Linked DNA regions of Homo sapiens: regions 2 and 3 are each linked to region 1. Evidence: promoter capture Hi-C in 16 types of primary human blood cells and fetal thymus (Javierre and others, 2016). All regions are on one chromosome and are shown on one strand. Each heading gives the region's core, a stretch centred on a gene start or on the middle of the fragment in contact. The rest is flanking DNA. Distances are from core to core; before and after follow the strand shown.

The links. Contacts are between HindIII fragments. The CHiCAGO score rates a contact against its expected background, and 5 or more counts as called.
Region 2: the fragment with the promoter of H4C6 here is called in contact with a fragment that was not itself captured in region 1 in 9 of 17 cell types (total B cells, monocytes, M0 macrophages and 6 more); the score reaches 9.2 in total B cells.
Region 3: a contact is called between the fragment with the promoter of H3C8 here and a fragment that was not itself captured in region 1, in 17 of 17 cell types (erythroblasts, naive CD8 T cells, naive B cells and 14 more). The highest score is 12.1, in erythroblasts.

Annotation. Positions count from the first base shown.
Region 1 is chr6:26,583,329-26,586,182 of GRCh38, forward strand. No RefSeq gene overlaps it. Among named protein-coding and RNA genes, the nearest start is that of TRY-GTA3-1, 7.7 kb to the left of the region's middle. The HindIII fragment of the contact is 1,543 bases long and covers 741-2,283 here.
Region 2 is chr6:26,238,885-26,241,738 of GRCh38, forward strand. It overlaps H4C6 (H4 clustered histone 6), which reads left to right and starts at 1,509. Exons shown (of 1, transcript NM_003540.4): 1 at 1,509-1,909. The coding sequence starts at 1,542. The coding sequence ends at 1,853. RefSeq lists enhancers at 1,136-1,235, 1,696-1,745. The HindIII fragment of the contact is 5,393 bases long and covers 1-2,854 here.
Region 3 is chr6:26,270,070-26,272,923 of GRCh38, forward strand. H3C8 (H3 clustered histone 8) reads right to left here and starts at 1,344. Exons shown (of 1, transcript NM_003534.3): 1 at 849-1,344. The coding sequence starts at 1,315. The coding sequence ends at 905. It also overlaps the pseudogene H2AC10P. RefSeq lists enhancers at 246-385, 2,113-2,452, 2,783-2,854. The HindIII fragment of the contact is 12,049 bases long and covers 745-2,854 here.

The DNA.
Region 1 (2,854 bases), core at 262-2,761:
CTAGTCTTCTTTACTGGTTCTTCCTCTTCTCCCTGACTCCTTAATATTGTTTTTCTCCCCAGGCTTTAGTTCTTAGTCCTCTTCTGTTATCTATTTACACCCAATTCTTTCAGAGTCTCATCCAGAGTCATGAACTTAAACCTGTTTCTGTGCAGATAATTCACATTATTATATCTCCAGCCCAGACTCTCCCGCAAACTGCAGACTGATCCTACTGCAGTATTCCTACCTACTCATCATCTCCACTTAGAAGCTAATAATCATCAAAACTGGACTCCTTATCTCATTCCCTCCCAAATCTGTCGCACCCACAGTCACCCTCACTCCATTCCATCCTTCACAGTTCTCTGGTCAGATACCTGGGAGTCAGCCTGATTCTTCTTTGTGTCGCATTCCGCATCAATTTATTGGGTGATTCTGTTGCTTCTATCTTCACTACATATCCATGATCTTACAGCATCTCACCACTCTTACTGCCACAACTCCTTTTGGAGACATCGTAATTTTCGCCTGAATCAATCTTGCCTTCCTGCTTCTGCCCCTGACTACTTACCTATTCTTCCACAGCATATTGGATGACCTTTCAAAAACCTACTGTTTTTTTTCTGGGGTGGGGTGGGGTGGGGTGGTTTATTCAAGGATTTAGGGGCAAGTGGTTTAATCCAGAAAACACTGGTGTGGAAAAAACAAAGTGAAAAAGAAAAGAAAAGAAACCAAGGAATACCACTCTGGGCTATTCAAGCTTAATCCTTCTTAACCCCTCTTAATCCTCAGAGGAGGAACTCTGGGAAACAATGTTGAAAATATGCCTAAAAATGATCAAACTTCAAGGGTAAGGGAGCTGGGATAGTCATACACCATTTACCAAAAATTGCTTGGGAGCTATTCTAAACCTCCAATTCAGTGGAACATCTGGCCTGCCATGAATGTGGGCAAAGTGTGATCAGCAGGTGGGGAAAGCTCTCATGCGATAAGATGCAAGTACCGGCAGGTAGAAATCAGCCTGGTGGACATTGACATGGTGAAGGTCAGGGGGATATGGGGGGGGCTTCTTGGTGGGATGCCAGAGGTAATATGGTGAGGCTCCAACATCTTCAATGTGGAGTTGATCCTTGATCCTTGGTCTTCAAAGTTGGTCAGTGGCCAGGTGCCGTGGCTCATGCCTGTAATCTTAGCAGTTTCTGAGGCAGGTGGATCACTTGAGGTCAGGAGTTCAAGACTAGCCTAGCCAACATGCTGAAACCCCGTCTCTACTAAAAATACAAAAATTAGTCGGGCGTGGTAGCACATGCCTGTAATCCCAGCTACTAGGGAGGCTGAGGCAGGAGAATCACTTGAACCCGCGAGGTGGAGGTTGCAGTGAGCCAAGATCACACCACTTCACTCCAGCCTGGGCAAAAGAGCGAAACTCCATCTCACGTACACACACAAAGTAATAATAATAGTAATAATAATAATAAAATAAAAGTTGGTCAGTGGTCAATACATTTTCCAGGTCATTCCTGGGAGAATAAACAGTTTAAAAAAGGCTCAGATATCTTAGAGAGCCTGAGATGTTCCTAGAACTGAAACCAGTGTTGTACAAAAGGAACACTGATGTTGAAGAACTACTGCTGGATTAGAAGGAGTTAGGAGTATTAGGAAGCCCTACCTGCCATTGGGAATAAAAGTAGAAGATAAGACAATGATCAGGTTCCTTGTAGCTATTTTAGCCATGAAAATAGAAACTTTAGACCAGATACAGCATGCATATATAAGATAGTCATGTAACTTTCCATTGAATGTGATGCTCAGTCTATTTACTAATAATAATTAGGCATAAAACTCAACATTAAGAAATGATCTCGCATGGTAATTTTCAGGTGCAGCAAGGATTTAAGAGGCTAAGATTTTATGATTCATGCTACAATTTTCTATTTGTCTTAGGGAAGATCTGTCCCCAAAGAAGCAAATGGTTGGTAGAAGTTATGAGGGAAAAAGGAAAGCAATCTGAATTGTGGGTGCTGTGGCAAGGGAGAAAAGGAGAAAAAGGACAGTCACTATGGCTGCATATGGGGCCAAGAGACAGAGCAGGTGAAATGCCTCTTGTGTCTAATAATTATTTTTGCTGTAATCCTAATGACTGAACTTTCCAGGCTTGAAAAACTGCCATAGTATTTTAAAATCCCAATCTTAGATCTGTGTTCATTCTAATTTTGAGATTTTTACTACTTTTAGCTCAATACATTTAAATGTTCTAGAATTCTACCACAAAGAACCAAAGAAACTTTAGACATTTTCCTAAGCTTATCATAATATAAAGTGATATTAGGCTGTACGTAGACCACTGGCAATACTTCACTAAGCTTTTTCTTGGGATATGTTGATATTAATATATTAAAATATATATGTATATTTAAAAACCTGTTTTCTATGAACACTTTTAGCATACCTCTTAGTGCTCAAGTTCACACAATTTTGTTGGATATTTACCTAGAAAGGAATCTGGTCTTCTTAATGAATTCATACTTCTGAATTTCCTGGATGTATCCATCTGGATACATTAGCTTATGCTGCAATAATAAGTAATTCCTCTCCCCCACGCCAAATCATACTGGCTTATAACCATAAACTCCTATTTCTGTGTCATAAAAATCTATCATGATTTGGTTGGTGGTCTCTATTTCACTAATAAACCCTGATTTGTAGATCCTCTACAATCAAAATAATCAATTATTTTGTCAAGGTAAGGTAAAAAGGGACCCGATAGATTGCTCACTGACTCTCAAACATCTGGAAGGGACACCTCATTTTCCAGAACAAATGTGTCATATGTCCACATCTATTTCTGAGGAAGTAAGAACTACAATCTGCA
Region 2 (2,854 bases), core at 259-2,758, 340 kb before region 1:
GCAGAGACGGGATTTTTAAGTTACCCTTGCAGTATATAGGAGGCAATGAATGTGAAGCAGTAGACTGTAAGAGTTAATGTTGAATTTTTCTACTACACATACCCTATGATCTGTGTGTAGAACACTTCTTCCGGAATCTTTTATTAGGACAGTATTTCACAGAATTTATTAGTATTATTTTTGTTAATTTACAAACCTTTATTCACCATGATTTACCATGTATGCTTTAGTGGCATGAAAGCAGTGGTAGGTAGCAAGGTAGTGAGACTCCAGAATCGAGCCAACAATACAATGCCATTTATTAGAGGATAATGTCTTCAAGCCTGGGATTCCTTATCTTTACACCTCAGATATTGCATTATACATTGAAAAACTAAGAATGAAACTTCAATTAATATTGGTTTCCCTTACTAGAGGTCTTTCTTTATTAGGAATGCCAAAAACGATGTGAATGTATATGTCTCTGCCAAACGCTAAGTCTCATGATTGGCCAAATTTAAGAAGTATTGCTACATTTTAAGAATTAATAAAAATGGCCGGGCGTGGTGGCTCACGCCAGTAATCCCAGCACTTTGTGAGGCCAAGGTGGGTGGATCACCTGAAGTCAGGAGTTCGAGACCACCCTGGCCAACATGGCGAAACCCCGTCTTTACTAAGAAAATACAAAAATTACCCAGGTGTGGCGACGCGTGCCTGAAATCACAGCTACTCGTGAGGCTGAGGCATGAGAATCGCTTGAACCCAGAAGGCGGAGGTTGCAGTGAGCCGAGATAGCGCCACTGCACTCCAGCCTGGGCAACAGAGTGAGACCCCGTATCAAAAAAAAAAAATTAGTAAAAATACATTTTCAAAGAATCTTCACATTTAAAAATTAAAGCTAGGCGCCTGTAATCCCAGAACTTTGGGAGGCCGAGGCGGGTGGATCACCTGAGGTCAGGAGTTCGAGACCAGCCTAGTCAACATGGCGAAACCCCATCTCTACTAAAAATACAAAAATTAGCCGGGCGTGGTGACGCGCGCCTGTAGTTGCAGCTACTGCAGGGGCTGAGGCAGAAGAATCGCTCGAACCCGAGAGGCGGAGGTTGCAGTGAGCCGAGATCACGCCACTGCACTCCAGTCTGGGGCAGAGCAAAACTGTTTCAAAAGAAATAATAATTTTATTCTCTTGTCTATCCATTCGGTAGACAAGTGTAGCGTTACTGCCTCCTTTTTGCAAATAATAAGGATTTTAGGAGACAGACATTATCAGTTCGAGAGCCCACAGGCACTGGACTAGAAGACACAGAAACCTACACTCAAGACCCAAACAAGGAAACAGGAAGGAGTCAAATCAACTTGCATTTCCCCTACCCTCACCGCCCCCTTTCCTTCCCAAGGCAATAGTGTAGGGGACGCCCAGTAAGTTACGGAAAAGGCGGAGACAGAGGTTTCGTTCCCGCCCCTCCAATTCAGTCTCCAAAAAGGTCCGCATAATTGATATATAAGGGGCTTCAGTGTGTAGCAAAGTTGCAAAAGTTAAGAGTTGTTGTTTGTCTTCGATCATGTCTGGTAGAGGCAAAGGTGGTAAAGGTTTAGGAAAGGGAGGCGCCAAGCGCCATCGCAAAGTGCTGCGTGACAACATACAGGGCATCACGAAGCCCGCCATCCGTCGCTTGGCCCGACGCGGCGGCGTGAAACGCATTTCGGGCCTCATTTATGAGGAGACCCGCGGTGTTCTTAAGGTGTTCCTGGAGAATGTGATACGGGACGCCGTAACCTACACGGAGCACGCCAAGCGTAAGACAGTCACTGCAATGGATGTTGTCTACGCGCTCAAGCGCCAGGGACGCACTCTGTACGGCTTTGGTGGCTGAGCCTCACCCCGGCTTTTTATTTAACAGCTCACCCATAAAAGGCCCTTTTCAGGGCCACCTCCTTCGTCACACGAAGGGCTGTAACTGATGACGACTTGGGTTTCGTTTTGTAAATTTGGGATTCTAACTGAGTTAAACCGAGCCGTTTTTAGCGATCTTCCTAAGATGGCGGATGTGCTAAGGAGAAAGGGAAGGCGAAACATTAGAAACTTGTTCAGGTATTTCGATCGCAAACATTCACAGGAAAAGATGGTGGAAATGGTTTGGGAATACCAGCAGCCTTTTATGACGTATGTGATGTGTTTTATTCCCACGTTTCTGAAATTTACTCCTATGTTAGGTGGCTGGGACTTAACTACACTAGCATTACATGTTTAGTTTTTGAGATGGAGTTGCTCTTGTCCAGGCTGTAGTGCAATGACGCAATCTCGGCTCACCGCAACCACCCCCTCCCGGGTTTAAGCGGTTCTCCTGACTCAACCTCCCGAGTAACTGGGGTTACAGGCATGCGCCACCACGCTTGGCTAATTTTTTATTTTTAGTACAGAAGGGGCTTTTCTGTGTTGGTCTGGCTGGTCTCGAACTCCCGACCTCAGGTGATCCGCCCTTCTTGGCCTCCCAAAGTGCAGGGATTGCAGGCGTGAGCCACCGTGCCCGGCCTTAGTGTTATTTATTAGGCATAGAACGTGAGTAATCTTAGGGCGGCTGTGGACAGATCAATTACTGGTAAACTTAATCCACTACTTGTGTCCGGGCGCGGTGCCTCAGGCCTGAATCACAGCACCTTGGGAGACCACGGCGGGCGGATTACTAGAGCTCAGGAGTTCGAGACTAGCCTGGGCAACCAAAATGGTGAAACTCCGTCTCAACTAAAAAAGTTAAATAGGAAAGTTAGCCCGGCGTTGTGGCGGACGCCTGCTGTCGCAGCTAATCTGCAAGGGCTGAGGCAGGAGAATCGCTTGAGCACGGGAGGCGGAGATTTCAGTGAGCTGAGATGGTGC
Region 3 (2,854 bases), core at 94-2,593, 310 kb before region 1:
TACATTGAGAAAACTGATCTGTAAAGAAATCAAACTATTTTAGGGGATTGTTCTGTGCACTTGCTTTAGAGAACATTTCATAGAATATTTCATTCTGTAACATAAATAAACATGCATTTTGCAAAAGCTCACTCCTTGTAAGAGTTCACAGGCAGGATGCCTTTACTGATGAGACCAAAACCAACAACCTAGGCTTCCTAAATCAGTGTTCATGAGAATCATCTGAGGTATATGCAGATTGACTCCAGCCCTAGATGGGGATTGAAACAAGCTCCCATGTAATGCCCTGGGAGCTTCTAACAAGTTCCCACGTAATGCCCATGCTGCCAGTAATGTAGAGGCCAATCTGGCTTTCGTTTCTGCCGCCAATTTCTAATATTGAATTAAAAAATGGATCATTTCACAGAAAAACCAAGAACTGTTTAAAAAAAGGGGGAATTGTGGAAATAGCTGCTTCAGACACGAAAAAGCAGCAACCAAGGATATCCCTACCTACTCTCAACTGCCAATGCTCATACCTGTAAAGTTTTAAAAGGGATTAACCAGAAATACACAACGAAAAAAAATCCCATCTATAATGGGTGTAAGTAGACAACGCGACTAACGCTTGAGACAATGTATATAAACGCCCCCAGGTGGCCCCTTCCACTACCAAATCGAAGCTCCAAACCCCTAAAAGCCAGTTTAGAAAAGGACGCTGACAATCTGGCACTTTCGGGAAAAAGCACGGGAACAAATATAGCAAGCTTACCATTAACTTTAGCCAATCAAATGAGGACTTAAGTACTAAAACCAATGTTTAGTTTCAAAGATTTGATTAGTTAATCACAGCTATTTTCGGGTGAAAGTAGGCGGCTCTTAAAAGAGCCTTTTTAAGTTGGATAGAATTACTGCCCGGAAACCTCTACGCTCTCTCCCCACGAATGCGGCGAGCGAGCTGAATGTCCTTGGGCATGATAGTCACTCGCTTAGCATGGATGGCACACAGGTTGGTATCCTCAAAGAGCCCCACCAAGTAGGCCTCGCAGGCCTCCTGCAGGGCCATCACCGCGGAACTCTGAAAGCGCAGATCTGTCTTGAAGTCCTGAGCGATTTCTCGCACCAGGCGTTGGAAAGGCAACTTGCGGATCAGCAGCTCAGTCGACTTCTGATAGCGGCGAATCTCGCGCAGAGCCACGGTGCCGGGACGGTAGCGATGAGGTTTCTTCACGCCGCCGGTGGCCGGCGCGCTTTTCCGAGCCGCCTTAGTGGCCAGCTGCTTGCGCGGCGCTTTGCCACCGGTGGACTTGCGTGCAGTCTGCTTGGTGCGGGCCATCTCAGACTACCTGAAAGAAAAACTCAGCCACTTGGCAGAGTGGAAACTGCCCTTATATATACTCAGAAACATTCTAATTGGCCTTGTTGATTTTCAAAAGACCCGCGCAACAAAACCATTGGCTGAAGAGTCCAACGATGTGATTGGTGAATTACTGGAAAATCTGATTGGATGAATCACTTCATTTTTGAATCCTCTCTTCTCGGTTAGTCTGCGATCCAAGAACGTTAACTTCTTAAAGTTCTAATTCTGCGCTTCTCAAGCTGTAGTCCGTAAACGACTACTTTAAGACTTGGAAGACGCTAATTCTCATTCAGTAGATGTGTTGTGGGGCCAGATTCGGAGGACCACGTTTTGAGAAGTTTATCTTGTGCCGTTTTCTTGAGTCACCTGGACTGCTGCTAGCTGGAAACCTTTGACCATTATAAGGCAGGATTCCTGGGTGATGTACCTGGGAAATCACGAGCCAAGAAGTCACCGACATACAACAGTGAGCAACAAATGTTAACTGAATTCTATTTTGTCCCAAATGGTGTTTTGCTTCGGTTGAGAATTTTTAAGGCACAGGCTAATTTTAGGTTTTCCAACGACTCTTATCATTTACTTTTCGTTGGGTCCTATTGATGATATTCCAGGATACCACCCCCACTAGCCTCTTCTGCAGGATAACTTGAACACTGCAGTGGCCCTGTCCATCTAAACTTTACAAGGTTTTGTAAACGTTACTGAACTTGCTTCTTCCCGACTACATTAAAGCACTTACTTGAGATATTAAACATTTTCTCATTAGTCCTGTTTGCCTAGTCAGTCACTTGTATAGACAGGGCAACAGCACGGCCTGAATATTGGGCAGGACACCGCCCTGCGCGATAGTAACTTTGCCCAACAGCTTGTTGAGCTTCTCGTCGTGGATGGCGAGCTGCAGGCGTCGGGGGGTGACGCGGGTCTTCTTGTCTCGGGCCGCGTTGCCCGCCAACTCCAGGATCTTGGCGGTCAGGTACTCCAGCACCGCCTCCAGGTACACCGGCGCACCGGCCCGGACCCGCTTGGCGTAGTTGCCCTTGCGGAGGAGGCGGTGCACTCGGCCCACAGAAAACTGGAGACCAGCCCTGGAAGAGTGCGTTTTAGCCTTGGCGCGAGCTTTGCTGCCCTGCATTCCACATCCAGACGCAGTGAAGTATTTAAATACTTGTTTAGAAGAAGGAAAGTGATTGATTCTAGTAAAACGCAAGAGCTAAACTCTTATAATCTATATTCGGCAAAGTAGACTGTGCTATCTCCTGAACACAGATTTCAGCCAATCGAAAAGCAGGTGTTTAAAAAAATTTAAAAAAAAAAAAAAAAAAAAAACCACTTCTGACTTACATACTTATAGTTGAAAGGTCAAATTATGCAAGGTTGAGCTTCTGGGAGAGCCGATGAGATTTAGGAGTTCAGAAATGGCCTATCATATATTCAGACACTAAAAGAACCAATGAGAAACCGAAACTCAGCCAGCCTCATTTGCATATACACGAGGTAAATAATGAGGGCGTTTGG